Linked DNA regions of Homo sapiens: region 1 is linked to region 2. Evidence: promoter capture Hi-C in 16 types of primary human blood cells and fetal thymus (Javierre and others, 2016). All regions are on one chromosome and are shown on one strand. The core of a region is centred on a gene start or on the middle of the fragment in contact, and the rest is flanking DNA. Distances in the headings are between cores, read along the strand shown. Region 1 holds the start of FGF4 (fibroblast growth factor 4). Region 2 holds the start of FGF19 (fibroblast growth factor 19).

The links. The method cuts DNA at HindIII sites, captures the fragments that hold promoters and counts their contacts. A CHiCAGO score of 5 or more calls a contact.
Region 1: the fragment with the promoter of FGF4 here is called in contact with the fragment with the promoter of FGF19 in region 2 in 1 of 17 cell types (endothelial precursors); the score reaches 5.0 in endothelial precursors.

Annotation. Positions count from the first base shown.
Region 1 is chr11:69,773,610-69,778,572 of GRCh38, reverse strand. FGF4 (fibroblast growth factor 4) reads left to right here and starts at 3,232. Exons shown (of 3, transcript NM_002007.4): 1 at 3,232-3,828; 2 at 4,446-4,549. The coding sequence starts at 3,489. RefSeq lists enhancers at 1,560-2,483, 4,333-4,963 and promoters at 2,948-3,343, 2,231-3,343. The HindIII fragment of the contact is 22,710 bases long and covers 1-4,963 here.
Region 2 is chr11:69,701,637-69,706,795 of GRCh38, reverse strand. It overlaps FGF19 (fibroblast growth factor 19), which reads left to right and starts at 2,774. Exons shown (of 3, transcript NM_005117.3): 1 at 2,774-3,151; 2 at 3,432-3,535. The coding sequence starts at 2,920. RefSeq lists enhancers at 1-463, 1,003-1,365 and a promoter at 504-2,701. The HindIII fragment of the contact is 32,821 bases long and covers 1-5,159 here.

The DNA of each region.
Region 1 (4,963 bases), core at 1,983-4,482, 71 kb before region 2:
ATTTTACAGATGGGGAAACTGAGAATGCTAAGAAGTGAAATAGCGTAAGGTTATACAACTAACAGGGAGACAGCCTAAACTTGAACCCAACCGGAAGCCCAACATGGCCCCAAGCCTTCCTCGAACCCCAGGACTTGGCAAAGCGGGCGTCCTGGGGTAAAGCATGGCAGAAGGGCTTTGGGTCCAAGCTAAGTGAGGGTCCTGTTTCTAGATCACCTGGCCAGGTGCAGTGGCTCATGCCTGTAATCCCAGCACTTTGGGAGGCTGAGGCGGGAGGATTGCTTGAGGTCAAAAGTTTGAGTCCAGCCCGGGCAATACAGCGAGACCTCGTCTCTACTAAAAAAGAAAACAAAAAATTAGCTGAGTGTGTAGTCCCAGCTACTCAGGAGACTGAGGCTGGAGGATTGCTTAAGCCTGGAAGTTTGAGGCTGTAGAGCTATGATAGAGCCACTGCACTTTAGCCTGGGCAATGGAGCAAGATACTATCTCAAAAAAAAAAAAAAAATTATATATAGGTCCCCTTGTCTCTCTGCTGAGAAGTAACCAGATCTGGAAAAGATTTAGTCACCTTGGTCCAACTATTTCTTTCACATAAAGAAAAAAAAAGGCAATGCAGACCTTCCCATAGGGGCAGCTCTGCCTGAGGCCTTTGCAGGTACCTCTGTTTGTCTGCCCCGGGGCACAGTGGCAGATTGGGCAGGGCAGCTTGCAGTGAGGATTGCTGATGGATGAGCTCCTAGTGTACCTAGCCAGCCATTTACTCACAAACAGCTATTGAGCACCTACTATGTGCCCAGCACTGGAGGTACAACTGGCAACAACACAAATCCGGGCTTGCTCCATGGAGATGACAATCTAAATGCGGTGGAGGGTCAGCTAACAAGTGCAGAAGGTTCTCTTAAGAGCTCAAAGAAGCTCCAACCAGAAGGACTGGGCAGGGGATCCAGAAGGCATCCCCGAGTGGCTACTCCAATGGAGTGGCTTCTCCATTCAGGCAAACCTGAATGGGATAAGTCATTGGCAGGAAGATCTGGGGCCGGGGGTCATCCAGTGGGAAGGGGAGAGATGACGCGGTCAGCATGGCGGGAACACAGGAGCAGAAAGGAAGCAGGTGGGAAGCCAGGTCAAGGGCCAGGGGCACGGAAAGGGGTCAGATGCAGATAAGTGAGTGCTTCCTGGTGCATCCTTCATCCGCAATTCTTCCTTACCTGTGCTTTTGTTGCCTCCATTGCACAGCTGAGGAGGCCAGGGCCTGCGGAGGTTGAGAGTGTGCTCAGGGAGCACCCGGAGCAAAGTGGAAGCCAGATTCCAGATCAGTTCTGCTGGGAATTCCCAGCTCCCAAAAGCCCTGCTGGCTGTCAGTCCCCAGTCACCACAAGCACCTATCCTGTGTGGGTGGGCCTGCAGTTCTGGGAGATATATCAGCTGCCTGCAGCGTCCTTTGCTGAACTCACAGCAAATAGGAGAGACAGGGAGGGGTCCTTGGGAAGCCCTAAATTGAGCTTGCTGTGGGAGTCCTGGGAAGAAAGGAGCCTCATCCTATCAAAAGCCGGGGGAAGACATCAGAGTCCCTCTGCTCAGGTCAGCTGGCACAGGTGGGTCTCCAGGCCTGGGTCTCACTTCCCCAGAGGGTGTGTTCGGTTGGCCCCAGGCTGAGGGAGGAAAGCCCACCTCCCATGTCATTTTGCAAATGGGGAGTCAGGGACCTAGAGATGGAAAGACAACACAGCAAGTGAGGGATGGGTTCTAGGTCCCCTGCACCCTGCACCCTGCACCCTGGCCAACGATGTCTATTTGGCACCAGATCTGCAGGCTCATCTGGGGGACCCCAGGACCCAGAGGCAGCCGGGTTGCATCTCGAAGCTGTGAGCTGCAGCCCAGGAAGGTCCAGGTCTGGGTGGCGCTGCCCAAGCAGGCTGCAGGCCCAAGGAGGAACAAAGATCCTCTCAAGGGGTGCGGAGCTGAGGTTCCGGTCCTGCCAAAGCCACTTGATGACCCCCAAGTGCCCCCCTTTCTGCACCTCAGAGAAGAGCCCTCAAGCCTCCCAGGTCCCCTCCAGGGGCACGAATAAGCCCCAGCAGGGTTCTGAAGGGGTCCCAGGAATCTCCCTGTGGGGATGCGGTGGAGGTGGAGGAGGCTGCGGTGGCCTGGGGACATCTCTGGTCACAGGTGCTGGTGGTATGAGAGATGGGGTAGGCACCAAGCCCCCTGCAGCTGTGGCTAGGCGGGCCTGCAGGAAGGGCCAGGCAGGCTCCTCAGGGACCACAAAGAACAGGGGTTTTCACACCTAGGTGGGCCTGCATCTAGCTAGGACAGTCCCCATCAGGCCATAATGGGCACAGTGGGAGGTAGAACCATGAGTGAGAGAGGGGAGGCTTCCAGAGGCCTGGCCTGGGTCCCTGCTAGATTGAGGGCTCTGGCTATGGTACATGGATATTTCTGCTGTGGAATCAAAGGAGCAGGGGATGCTGAATATCCCCTCTGGCCCTATGCCCTGCTACCTGTCCTTTCACGGAAGGGTGTGTGTGTAGGGGGTGCAGGACCAGGCCTCCCTGGGTGCATCTCTGCCACCTTGCCCTTTGGCTCAGGTGGACCTCCACCAGGTATTCAGAACTCCAGCCCAGAAACGCGCCAAGCCTGTGGGGCCAAGACCTAGGGGGTGGGGGTGGCCTCCCTCCCGCCTGTAGCCAAAGGGTCCTCCCTTGCCCAGCCAGGCCCCGGTGTCGCTTACTGCTCTTATCCACCCCTCCTTCCCAGGCCGGTCCTCAAGGCCCCAGCAAAGGAACCAAGTTCCCGTGAGCCTCCGAAAGGCGAAGGGCAGGCAGCAGCCGCTGGCTTCTGCGCCCACTAGGAGCTTCGGATGCCCGAGTTAGGGCTGCGCCAAGGCGGCCGGAGCAGAGAGGGAGACGGGGACGGGGACAGGCAGGGACAAAGTGCAAGAGGCAAAACTGGCTGAAAAGCAGAAGTGTAGGAGCCGCCAAGGGGCGGGACGAACAGGTCCGTGGGCCGGGCGGAGCCAAGGGTGGGGGCCGGGGTCCCTCCAGGTGGCACTCGCGGCGCTAGTCCCCAGCCTCCTCCCTTCCCCCGGCCCTGATTGGCAGGCGGCCTGCGACCAGCCGCGAACGCCACAGCGCCCCGGGCGCCCAGGAGAACGCGAACGGCCCCCCGCGGGAGCGGGCGAGTAGGAGGGGGCGCCGGGCTATATATATAGCGGCTCGGCCTCGGGCGGGCCTGGCGCTCAGGGAGGCGCGCACTGCTCCTCAGAGTCCCAGCTCCAGCCGCGCGCTTTCCGCCCGGCTCGCCGCTCCATGCAGCCGGGGTAGAGCCCGGCGCCCGGGGGCCCCGTCGCTTGCCTCCCGCACCTCCTCGGTTGCGCACTCCTGCCCGAGGTCGGCCGTGCGCTCCCGCGGGACGCCACAGGCGCAGCTCTGCCCCCCAGCTTCCCGGGCGCACTGACCGCCTGACCGACGCACGGCCCTCGGGCCGGGATGTCGGGGCCCGGGACGGCCGCGGTAGCGCTGCTCCCGGCGGTCCTGCTGGCCTTGCTGGCGCCCTGGGCGGGCCGAGGGGGCGCCGCCGCACCCACTGCACCCAACGGCACGCTGGAGGCCGAGCTGGAGCGCCGCTGGGAGAGCCTGGTGGCGCTCTCGTTGGCGCGCCTGCCGGTGGCAGCGCAGCCCAAGGAGGCGGCCGTCCAGAGCGGCGCCGGCGACTACCTGCTGGGCATCAAGCGGCTGCGGCGGCTCTACTGCAACGTGGGCATCGGCTTCCACCTCCAGGCGCTCCCCGACGGCCGCATCGGCGGCGCGCACGCGGACACCCGCGACAGTGAGTGGCGCGGCCAGGCGCGAAGGGGCGGGGGCGGGGGGCAACGGCCGCCGGGCCAACCCGCTCAGTCACACTCTGAGACCCTCGGCGGGCACCTGCTCGGGGGCCCCGGGAACCGGGGCGGACTCGGGCTCCGGTCCCTTCTGACGCGGGGCTGGGGACGCAGACACTCTTGGCTCCGGCAGCCCAGCGCAACCCCTGAGGTCGGGCGCCGCCTCCCGCCTTCAGAAACTCGGGCTCCGAGCGCCGAATTCCAGCGCCTTCGCCCGTGGGCACAGGGCGCGCGGTGCAGCCACAGGGGGCCCGAGACACGCGCCCCGGCCTGGCCCAGGCTGGGGAACCGCTGGGGTCGGGCTCGCGTCTGAAGGTCCGGGACTGGGTGCGGCCGCCGGGGGTCCCCTACACAGGCAAGCTAATCTGAGCTAGCGCAGGCTTGGGCTCCGGAGGCCCTAGAGGGCAGCTTGGGCTCTGGAGGCCCTTGGGGGCGGCTGCGCCGGGAACCCTGGCCCTTTATCCCCAACCCCACCCCAGAAATAGGGTCCCCGGAGGCGAACAAGCCGAGGGGCGGAGTGGGCCAGGGATCACCTGCCCCGCAATGACCTGCGCCCCGCCCCCAGGCCTGCTGGAGCTCTCGCCCGTGGAGCGGGGCGTGGTGAGCATCTTCGGCGTGGCCAGCCGGTTCTTCGTGGCCATGAGCAGCAAGGGCAAGCTCTATGGCTCGGTGAGTACCGCAGGGGTCTGGCTAGGCACCTAGTTGGGAACAGCGGACATGGCTAGCAGGCTCGTGGCTTCTCCAGCCCCACCTGTGCCTGGGTCTTGGAGGGGTGGCAGGGTCACCAGGTCACGGGACCGGCAGGCCTCCCCAGACAAAGGAAGCAGCCCCAAGGCAGGAACAATGAGGTTCCTGCCATCCCTGAGTGGGCCCCTCCCAGACCGAGGAAAGGGCGCTATTGAGAGCCCTTCCCTTCTCTAGTCCAGAGGGGTAGGTCTCAGTGTTGGAACTGCGGGCTTGAGGCTGGACACGGAGGGAATGAATTCTCTGGCTGCTAGGTGCAGGGCAGGTGGTGAGAGCACCAGCTGTTGTGGGCTGGCCATGTCCCCTTCTCACCCTGTGTGGGTCTTGACACCTTAACTG
Region 2 (5,159 bases), core at 1,525-4,024:
CCCCCATACCCCTGCATGGGTGAGCGGGACATCCAGGTGCCTTGGACCCTACCTGCTACCCATTGCCCATGCCATTCAATGAATGAAACCCCACCTGGGCGATTCAGCCGGCTTAGCCACCCAGGGGCAAATCAAACACAACCTGAAAAGCAAAGTCAGCCCAATGCAGCACACAGGTGGCTTCAGAGGTCCCGGTGTGCACAGAACAGAGTGGGAGGAGGACCTCAGCCCTTGCCACACCTCTGCTCTCGCCAGGAGAGCCCCTTGCTGGCCAGCACTGCCTTGTCCTCTGCAGGCTTGGCTCCCTCTAACCACACACACCAGGGAGCCCAGCAAACACCCAAGATCGTGTGCCTGGCCCACCTGGGGCAAACCCTCGAGGCCCGGCAGTCCATCTCTGTAACCGTCAGCTACCTCACATGAGCAGGATCCATCCCCTAAGCTCTCAGAGCATTGCTGTGCCTGTGAGATGGCCGGCACACAGCTGACCTCAAGGCCTGCCATCAACACCTTCATGAGTGCTACATCCCAGGCCCTCTCTGTCCCCTCTTCCTTGTCACCCTCAGGACAAGCCTGAGAGCAAGCTGAGAGGGCAATGGGTCAGCGGTCCACGACCTACCCAGGGAGTGGCCGGGTGTGATCCATGCTACAGTGGGTCTGACCCCGGAGCCCCTGTCCCGGGATAAGACGCAGCACAGCCTGGATTTACGAGCCCCACTGTTTGGGTTCAAATTCCAACTTCACCACTAACAGAGTGTGCGACCTTGGGTTACTCGGCCACTTTTCTGGGGCCATTTCCCTCCTGCTCCATGGGGGAGGGAGGAATAGAATACTGTGGGGGCTCTTGTGGAGATTTGAGCTGAGAACCTCCATGAAGCGCTCAGAACAGGGGCTGGGGGACAGCAGCCGCCTTCCTCATTTCCCCACCTCCCTGATCGCATCAGCCACTCTCTTCCCCATGTCCCTGGAAGGGGCTGCAGAGGGGTAGGGGTGGAACCAGAGGCTGCCATCGCCCCCACCCGGTTTGGGTCGTGTCCCCCAGTGCAGCCTCTGCCATCGCCCTCAAGAGCATTTATCACGCATTTACCACGGATCTTTAAAACGAAAGCTGCAGGGGAGGGTAATTAAGTTTAATAGGAGCCGCCGTCGATTTAAAGCCACAGGGGGGAAGTAATTAGATTTAACAGAAGCCACGGCTTTCTGAACCAAGACACACAGCGTGGGGGTCCCTGGTCTAGAAAGCCTTCGGGATGATGTCTTTTTGTAAAGACTTTCCTGGTGACATTTGCTGCGCCCTCAGTCATTAACGCCAGTCACTGACTGGGGAATGAATGTGGCCTCTGCTCATTGAAATTCATTAGGCCTGGCATTTCTCTCGCTGTCTCTCCTGTTTGCCCTCCCCATCGCCTTTGCGCTGGGCCAGGAGGGCTCTGCCCCCAAAACCAGCCTCCTGGGGCCCCACATCCAGGAGCTGGGGGTTTGGAAGAATAACAAGAAATAATTAGAGTTAAACCAAAGCCCCGTAGGAGGACCCCTTTATTCCCCGCCTGGGTATTCTCTGGATGTCGTTTTCTTTATTGGCAGGAACCGCTTCATGGAGCGGCCCCCATTTCTTTCCTCACCTGGCACCTGCCCGGACGCCAGGGGCGCCCATCACCGTTCCTGGGCCCCTTCCCGACCCCTCCCCACCAGGTAAGGCGCTCTCGACCTCCCCGACCGTGCTGTTCCTCCTGACCCCGTGCGCAGGGACTCGGGGACTCAAAAACCAGACCCCCGACACAAGACAGCTCAAAAAACGGGAAACGGAGGCCCAGGCCTCCCTCCCTGCGCCCCTGCCTCCACCACCCTCCAGCCGAGAAGCTGGGGTTCACCAATCCCGCAGCTGGCCCGCCCACCCTGCCCGAGAGCCTCCTTCCCAGTGCCCCCTTTCAGGTTGCATCTCGCGCACAGCCGCGGGGCCGGGGCGAGCGCGGAGCAGGCAGGGGCGCGGGGCCAGGAGCGCAAAGCCCAGGCGGACGCCGAGGCTGCGGCGCCACCTACAGTCCGCGCGGCTTCCATTGTTTCCCCGCCGGCCGAGAGCGCGCCCGGCCCCCCGTCGGGGGGCAATTTACCCGGATAAAAGGGGCGGGGCAGGAATTGCAAGAAGATGAAGCTGAAAGAACCTGAGACTGTCGGAACTGCCGGGGAAAATTCTACGGGACGGCTTTGACGTCAGATGTGCGGGGCTGCGAAAGTCGGGGGAGGGAGTGCGAGTGGGCTTTTAAGGGGAAGGGCACTAAGGCCGAGGTGAGGCTTTTCCCGACAGAGGGTGAAGGGGGCAAAACTCGGTGCCCCCCAACCTCTGGCCCCGGGGTTCCTGACCCCGCCCCCGCTAGTGCCCCACGCCGAGTGCATCCACTGGGAGCCTGAGGCCTGGGGGAAGGGCCCCAGTTGTCGATTGCTTTACAAAGTCAAACTCTCCCAGCCAAGAACCTCGGGGCCGCTGCGCGGTGGGGAGGAGTTCCCCGAAACCCGGCCGCTAAGCGAGGCCTCCTCCTCCCGCAGATCCGAACGGCCTGGGCGGGGTCACCCCGGCTGGGACAAGAAGCCGCCGCCTGCCTGCCCGGGCCCGGGGAGGGGGCTGGGGCTGGGGCCGGAGGCGGGGTGTGAGTGGGTGTGTGCGGGGGGCGGAGGCTTGATGCAATCCCGATAAGAAATGCTCGGGTGTCTTGGGCACCTACCCGTGGGGCCCGTAAGGCGCTACTATATAAGGCTGCCGGCCCGGAGCCGCCGCGCCGTCAGAGCAGGAGCGCTGCGTCCAGGATCTAGGGCCACGACCATCCCAACCCGGCACTCACAGCCCCGCAGCGCATCCCGGTCGCCGCCCAGCCTCCCGCACCCCCATCGCCGGAGCTGCGCCGAGAGCCCCAGGGAGGTGCCATGCGGAGCGGGTGTGTGGTGGTCCACGTATGGATCCTGGCCGGCCTCTGGCTGGCCGTGGCCGGGCGCCCCCTCGCCTTCTCGGACGCGGGGCCCCACGTGCACTACGGCTGGGGCGACCCCATCCGCCTGCGGCACCTGTACACCTCCGGCCCCCACGGGCTCTCCAGCTGCTTCCTGCGCATCCGTGCCGACGGCGTCGTGGACTGCGCGCGGGGCCAGAGCGCGCACAGTGAGTGCCCGCCAGCACCCCCGCCCGCCCCGCCGCGCGCACCCCACCCCGCTGCGCGCGCCCCACCCCAGCGCCCTTCCTTCCTTTGCCACCCTTAGGCTCCTGCGGACCCCTCAACTCCTGGGAACCCCAGGTTTTGGCACCTGGACGTTAGGATCCCTCCGTTAGTCCCCAAACAGCGCGGGACGCTAGGGAGAAGCACAGGCTTGTGGACCGACCGCACCCACGTGGTGCGGGCCCAGCGGTCCTTGCTGCAGCTTCTCGCTTCCCCTGCGCCTAGGTTTGCTGGAGATCAAGGCAGTCGCTCTGCGGACCGTGGCCATCAAGGGCGTGCACAGCGTGCGGTACCTCTGCATGGGCGCCGACGGCAAGATGCAGGGGCTGGTAAGTGTCCCCACGGGGCGGATGCGCCGGGGCGGGGGACCGGCGCCTGTCCCCGGGCGGAGGCCTGAAGGAGAGAAAGGCGCTGGTTCGAATCCAGGGTTTCCTCGCCTCCTCCGCCCAGACCCGCGTGCAACTTCGAGGGAAAGATTGCAAAGACCGATTAAGTGCATGTCCGACGATTTCCTACGGAAATTTAGGGTCTCAGCCAGCAGCCAGAGAATAGGCAAAAGCTGCCTTTGCATTTCCAATTGAGTCAAAGGCCGGCCTAGCCGGACCGAGGAAACCCATTATTCGGCCTCCTTTGATATTAAACAGGAAAACCCACCTCGGGCCTTTTCAGCCTCTGCCTGCGCGTGTGTGGTCCTCGCCTCCGTTTCCCTCCCTCCAGTATAAAAGAAGAAAAAAAGAATGGGAAAGAAAAAAGAGGATCTACCCATAACTTTCCTTTAAAAACAAATCAATTGTCAAGCAAGGCAGAAAACAGTGCATTTGGGATAGGAGAGATTTTTTTTTTAGAATTAATTTTTAATCTACCAGGAGCACGGTGTGGCTTAGACGCAGATGCGCTGGAGTCATGTTGCGCCAGGGGAGTGCTTTTCCTCCTGCGGGCCTCACCTGTCCTGTAAACGCTTTCTGGTGGGGGCAGGGGGTGGGGGCTGGCAGGGAAGGCCCAGGTAACCGCAGAGGTCCCGGGGCCGGAAGTGTACGAGCGCTGGGGCTCTGGTGGCCGGGAACAAAGGCTGGGAGTTCAAAGGAACGAACCCGCGCCCCTCCCGCGGCCCCGCGCGCAGAGGAGGCTGTGTGAGGTCTCGGCCCGCGCAGGCCTCACACGCAGCCCCGGACTCCCTGGCGGAGCAGGGGCCAGGGCGGGGGTGGCCGCGCCTGCCCGGGGCCCCCACCCCAGAAAGGATGCAGAGGCGGGGCCGCCTCCGGCCCAACCAGCTCCTTTGTGAACAGCGGGACAAAGCATTTTAGAGTCTCAAAATTGCTCGGTGCCTCTGCCGTGCTCCGTGTACTCGGAGCGCCTGTTTCAGGTTTTATGGCGGAGTCCTGCGTGAGAGGACTGCAGAGAAAGGGGGTGGTCGGCACGCTGGACGCTGACTCCCACCCAGAGCCGCTCCAAACCCACCCTTGCAACTTTAATTTTGACATTTACTATGGCAGGGGGTGTGGGGGTTCCTAATGATGGGAGGCCAGCAGGGGACGTCAACCTAACCCGCCATTCTGCCCAAATTGGGGGTTGGGTCACCTGAAATCCCTCTGTGCCTTTTTTTTTTTTTTTTTTTTTTTTTTTTGGCAGAGTCTTGCTCTGTCGCCCAGGCTGGAATGCAGTGGCCAGATCTCGGCTCACTGCAACCTGTGCCTCCCAGGTTCAAGCGTTTCTGCTACCTCAGCCTCCCATGGAGCTGGGATTACAGGTACCCACCACCAAGCCCAGCTACCTTTTGTATTTTGGGTAGAGATGGGGTTTCACCATGTTGGTGGCCAGGCTGGTCTTGAACTCCCGACCTCAAGTGATCCGGCCGTCTCGGCCTCCCAAAGTGCTTTGGGATTAGAGGTGTGAGCCACCGCGCCCAGCCCCCTTTGTGCCTCTTGATCCCCTGTGCATGGTCTAACAGAAATT